4 separate regions of the Homo sapiens genome follow, and regions 1, 2 and 3 are each linked to region 4. The links are contacts of gene promoters, found by promoter capture Hi-C in blood cells and fetal thymus (Javierre and others, 2016). All regions are on one chromosome and are shown on one strand. The core of a region is centred on a gene start or on the middle of the fragment in contact, and the rest is flanking DNA. Distances in the headings are between cores, read along the strand shown. Region 1 has its middle 14 kb from the start of ASRGL1. Region 2 overlaps RAB3IL1 (RAB3A interacting protein like 1). Region 3 holds the start of SCGB1D4 (secretoglobin family 1D member 4). Region 4 holds the start of INCENP (inner centromere protein).

Region 1 (3,327 bases), core at 64-2,563, 200 kb before region 4:
ATATTTGTGATGGTCATGACGGTACCCACATTGCCCGGAGCCAGGGCTGTTTATAGAAATCACTCTTCATCTAGCCATAGGAGGCAGTCCTCACCTTCTCAGAAGGAGAACTGACTTACCTGGCTCTGGAAGTGGGCAGCGGGCTAGAGGGCACGTAAAGCTTTGCCTCTTCTTGGCTCTCCCAGCGGCTGGCCTGCCTTCAGGGTTAAGTCTTTTCCTCCTGCGACCTCTGGGGTATAATCTGCTGCAATTGTTAGAGCACTGCTGAAGGTAGGTAAGAGAGTTATTCTCATTTTCCACGTGCATGCATCCTCTGCTCTGCCCTCTGCACGTTTTTGTTTGTTTGTTTTGTTTTTTGTTTTTTTGACGGAGTTTCACTCTTGTCGCTCAGGCTGGAGTGCAATGGCGTGATCTCGGCTCACTGCAACCTTCGCCTCCTGGGTTCAAGTGATTCTCCTGCCTCAGCCTCCCGAGTAGCTGGGATTACAGGCGCCCGCCACCACGCCCAGATATTTTTTGTATTTTTAGTAAAGACAGGGTTTCACCAGGTTGGCCAGGCTGGTCTCGAACTCCTGACCTTGTGATCCACCCGCCTCGGCCTCCCAAAGTGCTGGGATTACAGGCGTGAGCCACCGCGCCCGGCCCTGGATTTTATATTTTTAAATGGTTAAAAAAATCAAAAGAAGAACAGTACTTTCTGACACATGGAAATTATGTGAAATCAAATTTCAGGGTTCAGAAATAAAGTCTTCTTGGGAAACAAACATATTTATATGAAAGGAAATCCAGGATGGAAATGGCTATGTCAGAGGCATCTAAAAAGTTGGTGGGTGGGTAGGAAGAGTTGGACCCAGGCCTATACACACCCAGACAGAATGTCACCTGTGGAACTGGGCCAAACTGTAAACATCCTGAAGAAGCAGGTACATTTAGTTTAACCTATTTATATTGGGCCTGATCACAAATCTCCTGGGGAGAGAGCTGTGCCAACATAAGCTGATCATCAGCTAGAGACATTCTAAGCTGTCAATCAATCACCATTAATCATAGACCATGCTAAGTTGTCCCACTTGTGTAAATTTACAGTAAACCTCTAAAACTCCTGCTCAACCTCACTTGGAGGGAACATGATTTAGCTGCTTGCTAGATTTGTGTCTCCCGCATTGCAATTCCTCTCTTGTTTGCTGCCCTGCAGGGTTTTTTTTTTTTTTTTGGTCGGGGGAGACGGAGTCTCGCTTTGTCCTCAGGCTGGAGTGCAGTGGCATGATCTAGGCTCACTGCAATCTCTGCCTCCTGGGTTCAAGTGATTTCCCTGCCTTAGCCTCTTGAGTAGCTGGGACTACAGGCGTGCACCACCATGCCCAGCTAATTTTTTGTATTTTAGTAGAGACAGGGTTTCACCATGTTGGCCAGGATGGTCTCGATCTCCTGACCTCATGATCCACCAGCCTCAGCCTCCCAAATTGTTGGGATTACAGGCATGAGCCACCATGTCCAGCCCTTATTTCTCATTAGTTGACACTCATTTGTTTGTTACATATTGTCTCTGGCTGCTTTCACCCTAGAGTGGCAGGGTTGAGTAGCTGGAACAGACGATGGTGGCCTACAAAGCCTCACATATTTTCTTCCTGGCCCATTGCAGAAAGTTTGTTGATCCTGAGTTAGGCGATTGACACTTTTCTTTCTTCTACACTTATTAGCCTTTCCAGAAGTATGTGTAATGAGAGGAGGATTCTCTCCTTTGCATGTTGGTCTAGCTAGTTGATTAGCTATTTGATCTAGCTAATGGTGTAGCTAATTAGAGATGGCAGGTAGTTAGCAAACATTTTACTTAGATTATCATTTAGACCTCCATTACTGTAGAGCTGTGTAGAGCAGTGTATTAGTTGGGGTTCTCTAGAGAGACAGAACCAATAGGAGATTATATATAACTATATGTTTGTATAAATATATAGGGGGATTTGTTAGGGGAATTGGCTTATGTGAGGATGGAGGCTGAGAAGTCCCATGGCAGGCCAGCTGCAAGCTGGAGAACCAGGGAAGCCTGAAGCGTGTCTCAGTCCAAGCCCAAAGGCCTGAGAACCAGACAAGTTGATATTGTGAAATGGAAGTCTGAGGCTGAAGGCCTGAGAAACTGGGAGGCAGCTGATGTATGTTCCAGAGTCCAAAGGCCAGAGAACCTGAAGTTCCTATTGCCTAGGGCAGGAGAAGAAGGGTGTCCCAGCTCCAGCAGAGAGACAGCAAGAGCAAATTCACCCTTTGTCTGCCTTTCTGTTCTACGTGGGCCCTCAGCTGATTGGGCCCACACTGGGTGAGGGTGGATCTTCCCAGTGATTCAAATGCCAACCTCTTCTGAATACACCCTCACAGACACACCCACAGATAGTGGTTTACCAGCTATCTGGGTATCCCTTAATCCAGTCAAGCTGACACCTGAAATTAACCTTCACAAGCAGGGAAAGCTTAAAATGAAGCCTGAGTGTTCCATTCCTGTGCATCTTAGGGTCAAGGGCCCGTGCTGAAATTCCTGTGCCGAGTGTCTGCCTGGGGTGACCCTGGCAGCCTCACTTGCTTCTTCTGAGCTGGACTAACATTGTTATCCTCCCTATGCTCAAATAAATCTAGACCATTCTCTTCCAGGAGCCACTCTAGAATATGTTCCTTTCAATTGATTAATGAGAAGAAATAATGTATGTGAAAGTACTTTATGAGATGTAGAATAGAATAATATATTGGACATGATTATTATTTTATAAAATAGTCTTGGCTGAGTTCATTTAATTTGCCTGACACACCCTGGAGCAGCCTTTCCAGCCACCAGCTGATGTCTTCCTCCAGGTTATCCTGGGCTCCTTCTCTGCTGCTCGTGTTGTGTTCTGCCCTTTGGACAAAGAAGGGTGTGCTTGCTGACCCAGAGCTGCCTTTCCTTGTTGGCATTCCTGTTGTTTTATTTTTGTTTTTGTTTGTGTTTCTTTGTGAGATGGAATTTTGCTCTTGTTGCCCAGGCTGGAGTGCAATGGTGCGATCTCGGCTTAACTGCAACCTCTGCCTCCCGGGTTCAAGCAATTCTCCCACCTCAGCTTCCCAAGTAGCTGGGATTACTGGCATGTGCCACCATGTCCAGCTGATTTTGTATTTTTAGTAGCGATGGGGTTTCACCATGTTGGTCAGGCTGGTCTCGAACTCCTGACTTCAGGTGATCCACCCGCCTTGGCCTCCCAAATGTTTTACTTTTGTTAACCGAGGTCATCCTCTTTTTCTGATGGCAAACCCAGCTTCCTCCTGCCAATGTACGATGACCCAAGGAGTTGCTGTGCCTTTCGGAAA
Region 2 (3,169 bases), core at 311-2,810, 220 kb after region 4:
CCGGCTCGGGGACTCCAAAAGCCATTACTACATCTCGCCATCTTCCCGGGCCAGGGTGAGTCAGCCTTTGCAAGCGTTACTTGACTCCTTTGGGGCCACCTGGGTGCTGGGACACTGGGCCCTGGGCCTGGGAGTATGAATAGCACTACACCTTGATTTACTTATTTTATTTATTTATTTTTTGAGACAGAGTCTTTGTCACCCAGGCTGGAGTGCAGTGGCACAATCTCAGTTCACTGCAATGTCTGCCTCCCAGGCAGACATTAGCAATTCTCCTGCCTCAGCTTCCCAAGTAGCTGGGATTACAGGCATGTGCCACCACGCCCAGCTAATTTTGTATTTTTAGTAGAGATGGGGTTTCACCACGTTGGCCAGGCTGAACTCGAACTCCTGGCCTTAAGTGATCTGCCTGCCTCGGCCTCCCAAAGTGCTGGGATTATAGGTGTGAGCCACCACGCCCAGCCTTACATCTTGATTTACAGAGCAGGGTACAGGCTCAGAGAGGCGCAGAGACTGACTCGGGCCACACAGCCAAGCCAAGGGCAGTGGTTTGCTATTACGGTGTAACAAATTACTATCAACCTGGTAGCTTAAAATAGCGCAGTTCCCCATGTTGGAGTCTAAGCACTACTTACTTACTGGATTCTCTGCTCAGGGACTTGCAAGGTCGCAGTAAGCTGTCAGCAGACTGTGTTCCTTTCTGGAAGTCAGGGTCCTCCTCAAAACTCACATTGTTGGCAGCATTCAGTTCCTTGTGTTTGAAGGACTGAGGCCCCTATTTTCTTGCTGGCTGCTGGCAAGGGGACACCCTCAGCTTCTAGAGGACACCCGCAGTCCCCTGCCACAGGGCCTTGTTGCACAGGGCAGCTGACTTCAGAGCCATCAGGAGGGCCACTCTCCAGTCGGCTGAGATGCAGCCTTATGTATGAAATGTCATGGGATGACATCGCCCCCCTCTGTCATTCAATGTCACCTAATCCAGGAGTGATGCTAGAGTTCCAGTTAGAGTGCGGGGCTCCTGACGCCCAGACTCAGGTGCTGGCCGAAGCTTTGGAAAAGGTTCAGCGGTGCGTCTGGTGCACCAGCCTTAAGTCGGCCGTGAGTGCCAAGGGGCCTCTAGGAATCCCAGCTCCCACCCTCCCCTGCCGAGTGACCCAGACCAGGACAGGGGTTCTCACCAAGCTGGGGATTGAGGACAGGGATTCCTCTTCCTCTGTCCCTCTGTTGACTCTTAAGAGGATTGAGGGGAACAAGAGAACATGTTTGGAAACACGTTTCCAGTGACACAGCTTGAGGAACCATCTCAGGCCTGCTAGAGGCTCCTCGCAGGGGAGCAGGTCTAAAGGGGACAAATGGTCCCTTTGCTGGCAGCAGACTATACTGTCCTTGATGAACTCCACAAGGCATCCGAGCGTGAGTCCTCCCAGCGGTGTGCTGAGCACCCATTTACCAAAAGGGAGGCTGAGCCTTGGCAGAGGAAAGGGGTGTGTTCAGGGCCACACACCGAGACCTGGGATCCTGGCTCTGAGTCCACTGCAGCCCCTACCCTGTGGATTTGTGCCCACTGAGCCTTGTTCAGTGGCCACTTATCTCCATCACCGCTTTCCAGGCCCAACCATGGCTCAACAGCAGGCCCCACAAAAGATGTTCCCGTGCTCAACAATGTCACCTCTAGCACTTTAAGTCCCTGGCCTGGGTGTCCTGCTGCACTGGATGAAGCTGGGGGTGGGAGATGAGGTGAGGAGGGTCTGAAGTTTTAGGATGTGGTCCCTGCCCTGAAAGACCAAGACATGTGGGGTCCACAGGGAGAAGTGTTTTCTCCCTAGCACACTCCCTGGAGAGGGAAAGCCCCCTCCCTGCTACTCCCTGCTCATGAGCCTCTGTGGGCATCCACTGTCCCTGCTCCTGTCCTGAGCTCTGCCCTGCCCCACCCTCCTGCCGCAGCCTCTCCTCAACCCTCCCTGTGCAGCGGTGTCCCTGCCACGACGGGCTGGTCCCCCGACCTCGCCCCGCTCTCTCGCACCTCCCTATCTTTGCCAGGCCACCACCGTCCCGCCCCTCCCCGAAGCTTCTCCACTCCCCAGCCTGCGGGTGCCCCTCTCACTTGATGTCCCTCCCCAGGAGTGTTGGACATTCAGTAGGGGCTGTTGCGGGCGGGCACAGCCGCCGGCTACCTTCCACCCTGTCTTAGGCTGGGTTCCGAAGAGGCAGAGCCTCACCTGGAGATTGTGTGCAGCTCCCAGGAGAATGAGGGAAGGGACGGGGGAGTCCAGCCAGGATGTGGCCTTAGCTACAGCCCAGCTTCAGCCCCATCCACCGGGCTCTTAGCAGAGTTGATTCCACCCTGAGGCAAGGGGACTGTCCTTTCTATCTCCACACAAGTCAGTCATCGGCTGAGGTCTACAGGAGGAGTGAGTACAGAGGGGGGCACCTCTGAGCCATTAGTGCCCCCACTCTCAGCAGCTGGGAGATGGGGCCCGGGCCTGGGAAGGGGCCCTGGGCCAGGCACCAACAGTACCCTCTCCGTGGTGTGAGTCCTCATAGCAGTGTCTGAGCCAACACAGGGTCCCCGGGGCCTGGCATGGAGCAGGCCTGAGGCCCCAGGGGCCCCGGGCAGCCCAGGTGAGCGGCTTCTGACCCCCTTTCCTTTCCCAGTGTTATCAGTAGCACTGGACTGAGGCCTGGCTGGCCCAAAACTCCAGCATCTGGAGCAAGCCGGCCTGTGAGAGGGCGAGTGTAGACTCCGGGACAGCCTGCCCGGTTCATCTCACAGCTCTGCTGCATGCTGGTTCATTAGCTCCGCCATCTCCGTGATGGATGTCAGCGGCTTTCCCCGGGTGGCTCCGCTTTCCCCCATGTAAGATGGAATAATAAGCGCGTCTGCTCCGTTCGCTGCAGGCGCTTGATGAAATGGCTGCTGCTGCTGCTGCTGCTATTACAGCAGGGCTAGTCATGCTGTTGTTGATTACTACTTGAAAGCCCAGTCCCAGCTGAGTCAGGGAGCACTGCCTGGCTCTGCAGGGACCTGGGGCCTCCTGCTCTGGACTCAGATCCGCCTGTCAGGGGACCCCCAGCGTGGGGCTGGCAGGTCACACCGTCCCCACCTCTGCCCACAGATCACCGCAGTGTGCAACTTCTTCACCTACATCCGCTACATCCAGCAAGGCCT
Region 3 (3,653 bases), core at 1,121-3,620, 180 kb before region 4:
ATGGAGAAAAATAATTCAGTTGATTGAAAAGAAAAGAGCCTTTTTCCCAAAAAACAAGATTCAACAAGAGAAAAGCATAAAGACCTTTTCAATATACCTATAACTTGAACATATCCACTTTTAATTAAGCTGAGCACTTTTAAAGAAAATCCTTTTAAATTCCTTGTTACTTGAGATTGCTGCAAATGAGAGGTGCATGGTTCCAGCAGAGTCTATGAAGGGGAGTATTGAACAAGTCATCGGGGTCAGGCAACGATGTCCATGGATGGAAAGAATAAACTAAAATCTTGAGTCAATTGTGTAAAAAGGAGGGAGCCATAAAAAGCATCAATGATGAAAACAAAAAAACCCTGCATAGGTGTTAATCGTGGTAGGACTAATAAAAGTATACGCAAACAATCCTCTGTCAGAGATACACATGCTCCCCAATGGACTGTACAGATGACAAGGTGAATGTCAAGCCTGAGTGAGGATAAACTCTCATCCACAAAAAGGGTGGATGCTTCACAGACCTGTCTACTGCAAAAGAGGCCTCAGTCCTGAAGCCCATATTCATGGGTTTGCAGCCTCCAAGACCATGAGCTGGGTTTCCTTTTCCATTTATGTCAAAGAGAAATGGTGTATCTAGGTGTCCGTGTAGTTCTGCAAGTAGGTGATTTAGTGGATTTTGGCTGTGCTCTAAACTAGGAACTACTGGCAAACCATGACATATATGACAAATGGGACAAGATAATGGCAGTTTACATTGAGAACTACTATGTACCAGAACTTGGTATATTTTAAACACACACACACCCATGAACACACTCATTTGATCATCTATCAACCCAATGATGTAGGCACCATTAGTAGCCTACTTTGACAAATGAGAAAACTGGGGTTACATAAACTGAATAATTTTCCTAAGGTCCAGGAGCCCATAAATGAGGATCTGAACCCTCATAGCTGTAAACCTCACCACCAACCCTCCCCCTCCTTGGTGGCAGCAGGGCTGATTCAGGGACTCCGTCGTCATCCTGTGTGATGAAAGTGAGATCCACTGTTGCCCTCAGCTTGGACTCAACTAAATCTGTCAATGTGTCTTTGATGACAAAACCCGTAAGGTCCCCTTCCTTCTTAAAGGTTTTCCTGGCTGGATCTCAGCCCTGCTGTCTGTGAGAAACACCAGAGCAGTTTAAACAGTACAGAAAGGAGGGATTCACCCCAATGCTACTGAATCAAAATCGCCAGAGAGAGAAGCCTGTGGGGTCAGTATGTTTTAAAAGCTCCAAGTGATTTGACTACATAGCTGAGAATGGAAAGCTATGGCCTGGGCTGTGACTCCTCTCAAATGTAAGTTTATTTAAGAGAAAAATTTCTGGTGATTAAACTCACACCACATGAAGGCACGGCAATGGGAGGGAAGGCGGGTGTGTATTGCTTTGTCTGGGGGCTTCCTTCACTTTCCCTTAAAAATGGGATTGGCCCAGGCAGCACAGATAGGTTTGAAGTGGAAAACTTGAGCCTAGGGGTTAGGGGGAAGTGACCACCCACCCTGTTCCTCTGTCTCTTCCCTTCTATTATCTTCCCAGCCTAGAGCCCCACTGATGTATGATTGGCTCTGAACACTCCAAAAGCTCTTGAGAAAAAGAGTTAGGTTATTTAATCTTCAGATCAGCCCTAAGATAAGACGTGGGTGGCTACACATCACAGAAAGCTTGCTTTTTATAGATAGAAAATGTGAATCTTGGCCATATATATAACTGCACGTATAAACAAGATTCAGGTTTGGGAGTGAGGCAGGCTAGAGAACAGGTGCAGCAGATGTTTTTCCTCAGCATATCTTCTACAGGTGGGATGTATTCAACTATGTTTTCAGTACCTATGCAGTGAACATGGTGGTGATGGAAGGGGCTGAGGGGAAGGATTAGACTTTCCCAATGTGCAACTGAAACAAGCCTGCTTGTTGTCAGACATGCAGGGGGATCAAAGCAGGGTCTCCTTATGTCCCTGCTCTCCCATAAAGAGAACACAGCCTTCCAGCTTCCTGTGCCTTGTGAAGCCATAATTCACCTGTGCCCCTGCACTGCTACAAAGATAAAAAGAACTAATCAGCAAAAGCTCATAAGGAAATTGAGGATCCCAGGAACATTTCCAGATGTACCTGAACACTCACCTGGAGCACAGAGCAGAGTTCTCACAAGGCTGCTGTCTTGTGCTCCGCCCCACTCAGATGCAGAGATTCCTAAGGAGGTGACATTGATGGACGGCAGCAGCCCTGGCTTGGAAGGGCGGGCTGGGAGCCAGGCCTCATGACCTACCAGGTGCCCCGGTAGGTAGGACCAGCCAGGCTCCCTAGGTACAAATAGCCCTGGCCTCCATGACTACACAGGCTCCTGGAGTCGAATCCAAATCACTCATTGTGAAAGCTGAGCTCACAGCCGAATAAGCCACCATGAGGCTGTCAGTGTGTCTCCTGATGGTCTCGCTGGCCCTTTGCTGCTACCAGGGTGAGTACATCAGTCATGAGTCCAGCACCAGCCCCTGGGATGCACCCTCTTCTGAGCACAAGATCACCTATTTGTGCTTTGGGTTGGGGTCTGCACAAAACCAAACAAAATTCCAAACCCTTTTCTGTGCTTGTTGAATAAGATTCATAAAGGTTAGAGCTATTTCTTCTTTCTTCTTCCTTTTTTTTTTTTTTTTTTTGAGAAGTTTTGCTCTTGTTGCCCAGGCTGGAGTGCAGTGGCATGATCTTGGCTCACTGCAACCTCTGCCTCCGGGGTTCAAGTGATTCTCCTGCCTCAGCCTTCCTGAGCAGCTGGGATTACAGGCATGGGCCACCACAGCTGGCTAATTTTGTATTTTTAGTAGAGATGGGGTTTCTCCATGTTGGTCAGGCTGGTCTCGAACTCCCGACCTCAGATGATCTGCCCGCCTCGGCCTCCTAAAGTGCTGGGATAACAGGCATGAGCTACTGCGCCTGGCTGCTTAGAGCTATTTCTTCTAATCCCCAGTATCTAAGAAGTTTTATAGAAAAATCAGTTCAGGCAAATGTTAGGAATTCTTCTGCCTGAGCTTCACTTCTGAATGGGATCTGTGTCAGATGATGTAATGTGAGGTCTGGGGTGAACCTGGGCTTCGACACTTCCCACCCCTTGATCTTGGGCACAATGCTCACCCTCCTTGAGCCTCCTCTTATCACTGGTGGTTAAAGCTTCTGCCAGGAGTGGCTATGAGAATGAAGTAAGGTTATGGTTGTCAAGAGTCAAGCTGTGGGCCAGGCATGGTGTCTCATTCCTGTAATCTTAGCACTTTGGGAGGCCACAGTGGGCAGATCACTTGAGCTCAGGAGTTCAGCACCAGCCTGGGCAACATGGCGAAACCCCATCTCTACAAAAAAAAAAAACAAAACAAAACACACACACACACACACACACACACACACACACACAAAAGCGGGCATGGTGGCAGGCACTGGTAGTCTCAGCTACTTTGGGGGCTGAGGGAGGATCGCTTGAGCCCAAGACATTCAGGCTGCAGTGAGCCGAGATTGTGCCACTGCATTCCAGTCTGGGTGAACCTATCTCAAAAAAAAGAAAAAGAAGTCTAGCTGAGGATATGAAGCTCTTCCCTTTGTTGTGTGACCCGGAGAAAGTCACACCTGGAGTTTC
Region 4 (3,555 bases), core at 118-2,617:
ACAACTGGCTAACTTTTTAAAAAGTATTTGTTCAAATGGGCAACGTGGATGAGAGCTTCTTTCACAAAGTCCATGAAAGCAATTGGACTTCTTTCACGGGGAGGTTTGCTTCTAGCAGACCTTAGCGCAACGATTTAAAAAGGGTTACCGTAAGTTAAAACAGAGGTGACCCTGAAAAAGAAGGAATCAGTGTACCAAGAATCAGGCTCCTGGAAGAGCAGCAAAAATCTCTTCTTCAACCCATGTAAGCACCTGCACACAGATAAAGAGCACTCAACACCTCACCGAGGAAGACACTCTCCAGTCTTCCTCCTCTCCAACACTTCTTCCACACCATACACCAGACTGAAGGCCCCATCGTCCTCCTCTATGACTCCTGTCCTTTTCAGGGTGCTGTAAGTTGGGCGCCTACCACACCTCTGTGCAGAAAGCGCATAGCAGCTGCTCCCATTTACTGAGTCATACTCCATGCCCGAGTCAGACATCATCTCATTTAATTCTCACCACAACCTTGAGGATACGCATGGGCAGATGAGGAAATTGAGGCAAAGAGAAGTCAAAATCAGCCGGTAAATCAGGGGCATAAATAGAACCGTGCCCTTAACCACGGGCTATACCGCCTTTAAACCGTGCCCTTAACCACTGGCTATACCGCCTTCTAGATATCAACTTCTGAAAGGCAGGTGCCCAGTCTTGGCTCTGGGCAACCCCGCGAGCAACCCATGTTAGCTGAATGAGACTGAACCGCTGACAGCGAACAGGCTTGGGGAGTGACAAGGGGCGGCCCAGCCTCCGGAAATGGTCAGTTTAAAATGCTGCTCAGCTGGGGGCGGGGGCGTTGAGAGAGGGGTTTAACTGCACAGAAATGCCATCTGGCATCATTCCGCCAAACAACCGGGTTGGTTTCGGGCTTCCTGCGCGTCCAAGTCAACACTAATCCTCACAGGCACAAGGTGCCAAGCAGCCGGGAGCGGAGGGAACGGGGCTATGCTCTAGGAAGCTGAGGGCCTAGGTGGAAAGGGTGGGAGGCATCTCGGGCCCGAGAACCAAGGCAGGCGACCTCGCCACTTGGAAGAGGTGACCCTCATATGCCCAGGTAGCCAGGGGCTGGGGTGGGGAGTCACGACCCTGGTCCGGAGTCGACAGGGACGGAGCAGAGGACCGGGGAAAAAATCGCGAACCACCCCCCAATCCCCACGCCCACGCGCACTCACTCGACTGCGCCACGTCCCCTGAAGGCTGCTCCGATCCAAGTCCGGTGGTATCCCTAGGTAAGGCCCCGCTTGCCCAGACCCACTTGGCTCCGGGCCTTCGGGACTCACCGCACGGGAGGAGCAACCAGGCGGCGCAGCGCGGGCGAAAACTATGATTTTCAAAACTGAAGGCTCAGCCAATCCTCGGCAAGTTTGTCCGGGCGGTTGCAAAATTTTAAGCCAATCAAATAACAGGAAGTACCAGTCAGCCCTCCTATTGGCCATATCCACTAGCAATCTGCGGGACTAAGAGGCGGGGAAAGGAAGCGAAAGACTTTAAGCCCCCTCAGCTTCCGGGTGCTGCGGCCGCGGCCGAGAGAGGAAGTAGATCCCCGCCTGGGAGGAGCCCGCAGACCTGGAACTACGAGTCCCGGCGAGCACTGCGAAGGCCACGCGCGGCTTTCTTTCTTCTCCAAGCACGGTGGCAGTCTTCTGATCTCTGCTGCTTTTTTTTCCTCATAAAAACATGTATGTATATACTTACATTGCTGAAAGACCAGCTTTTTAATGTAACAAATTATCTAGGTACAGAAGTCATAGGTTCCTCTTCCCATGAGAAAAACATTCCTCAAAATACAAACCAAACAGCATCCCAGAGGGAGTAAAATTTCATTGTACTGAAACATATACAAATTAAGGCTACCTTGGTATATAAACAATTTAGAAATTATGATGGAATAGTTCCACCAAATCATTTACGTATAGGAATTCATGCCATTTTTTAAAGAATTGGTAGTGGGGCTCAATTCAAACAATATTATGCATCCTTACATTCAACTTAATACACTTAGCAGCTATAAGGAGTGTAACTGTAACCCCACTTCCTGAAATCTCAGGAGTAATGTTAAAAATCCAAACCCATCAAAGGCCAGGGTGTTACGGTATTTGGCTCATGAATCGAAAAGCCTAATCATTTCAATTTAATCTTTACAAGTAGAACAAGATCCAAACATGGGACGTTTTCTTATTTTTCTTTGCTTTTGTGGTTGTAATGCCCTTTTGGTTTTCTGAGCAAGCTGAATACATCTGATAAATACTACCATTGGACAAAGGATCTAAACATTGAGATGTTTTACTAAATCAAGGTTTCAAGTTGGCACAATGTTTTTACTAAGTCATATTTCAATTAGTTCATCTTTCCAATATGGAGGCGGGGGGGGAAAGACAAGGACTAATATGTCCTATAAAGAATCTCTGGCCGGCGAGATCCCGCCACTGCACTCCAGCCTGGGCGACAGAGCGAGACTCCGTCTCAAAAAAAAAAAAAAAAAAAAAAAAGAATCTCTGGCCGGGCGCGGTGGCTCACGCCTGCAATCCTAGCACTTTGGGAGGCCGAGGCGGGTGGATTGCCTGAGCTCAGGAGTTCGAGACCAGCCTGGGCAACACAGTGGAACCCTGTCTCTACTAAAATACAAAAAAAAATTAGCCGGGCGTGGTGGCTTGCACCTGTAATCCCAGCGACTCGGGAGGCTGAGACAGGAGAATCGCTTGAACCCGGGAGGCAGAGGTTGCAGTGGGCCGAGATCGCGCCATTGCACTCCAGCCTGGGCCACAAAAAGCAAAAAACTCCGTCTCAAAAAAAAAATCTCTGCCGCTTTTGAGAAGTAAAAACAAAACGCCTTGTGAATGGCAACGGAGTGTGCGTTTATCTAGAGCCTTCTGTCATCTCTTGGGCGACAGAATCCTTGGTCACCTACCCTGGTACTGGACGTTTCTTGAGAGAAGTGGTTCTCATGCAGAGGAGGTTTTATCCCACCTCCGCCCCCCACATTTGGCAGTGTGTGAATTCATTTGGGTTTGGGAGAAGGGGTTAGTGGTATTTGGTGGGTAAAGGCCAGGGATGCTGCTGAACGCCATCTAGTGCATAAGACAGTCCCCACAGCAAGGAATTACCCGGCCCCAGATACCAGAATTGCTGCTGTTGAGAAACTGCTTTAGACAAAGTCACTTTACTCTGTGAGTCAAGGTTGCTGTTACCTGTAAAATAAGGCAGTTCAATCTTGAAGAGATTTGTACATCCACGGTCAGCTACCAACAGATAGTTTACCCTGTTCCCAGGTCGTCTGTAGTATTTTTCCTCTCCCTTTCTTCCCTCTCTTTATCAATTCTGTTTTTGCCTTTGTTATTTTACTCAGTTTACCAACTGACTCCATCATATGTGAGTAAATAATTTGTGAGCAAATTAACTAAACATTTCTGAGTTATTCTTTGAAGAATGTAAATAATTGGAAATCAGCTGAATCATAAAAGGATATGTTACCCAATCGTTAATCATTCTGTTTATTAATTCTGACATGAGTAT

The links. The method cuts DNA at HindIII sites, captures the fragments that hold promoters and counts their contacts. A CHiCAGO score of 5 or more calls a contact.
Region 1: a contact is called between a fragment that was not itself captured here and the fragment with the promoter of INCENP in region 4, in 1 of 17 cell types (M2 macrophages). The highest score is 6.0, in M2 macrophages.
Region 2: a contact is called between a fragment that was not itself captured here and the fragment with the promoter of INCENP in region 4, in 1 of 17 cell types (neutrophils). The highest score is 6.5, in neutrophils.
Region 3: the fragment with the promoter of SCGB1D4 here is called in contact with the fragment with the promoter of INCENP in region 4 in 5 of 17 cell types (M2 macrophages, M1 macrophages, megakaryocytes and 2 more); the score reaches 9.1 in M2 macrophages.

The regions. Positions count from the first base shown.
Region 1 is chr11:62,321,546-62,324,872 of GRCh38, reverse strand. No RefSeq gene overlaps it. Among named protein-coding and RNA genes, the nearest start is that of ASRGL1, 14 kb to the left of the region's middle. The HindIII fragment of the contact is 2,302 bases long and covers 163-2,464 here.
Region 2 is chr11:61,899,328-61,902,496 of GRCh38, reverse strand. It overlaps RAB3IL1 (RAB3A interacting protein like 1), which reads left to right. Exons shown (of 10, transcript NM_013401.4): 8 at 1-55; 9 at 3,117-3,169. Among named protein-coding and RNA genes, the nearest start is that of FADS3, 9.4 kb to the right of the region's middle. RefSeq lists enhancers at 2,909-2,978, 2,090-3,061, 3,029-3,078. The HindIII fragment of the contact is 1,020 bases long and covers 1,051-2,070 here.
Region 3 is chr11:62,297,792-62,301,444 of GRCh38, reverse strand. SCGB1D4 (secretoglobin family 1D member 4) reads left to right here and starts at 2,370. Exons shown (of 3, transcript NM_206998.2): 1 at 2,370-2,489. The coding sequence starts at 2,435. The HindIII fragment of the contact is 1,500 bases long and covers 1,699-3,198 here.
Region 4 is chr11:62,121,823-62,125,377 of GRCh38, reverse strand. It overlaps INCENP (inner centromere protein), which reads right to left and starts at 1,367. Exons shown (of 19, transcript NM_001040694.2): 1 at 1,215-1,367. LOC124902681 (a long non-coding RNA gene) reads left to right here and starts at 1,667. Exons shown (of 2, transcript XR_007062697.1): 1 at 1,667-1,721. RefSeq lists enhancers at 496-1,077, 1,067-1,136, 1,667-1,756. The HindIII fragment of the contact is 13,511 bases long and covers 1-3,555 here.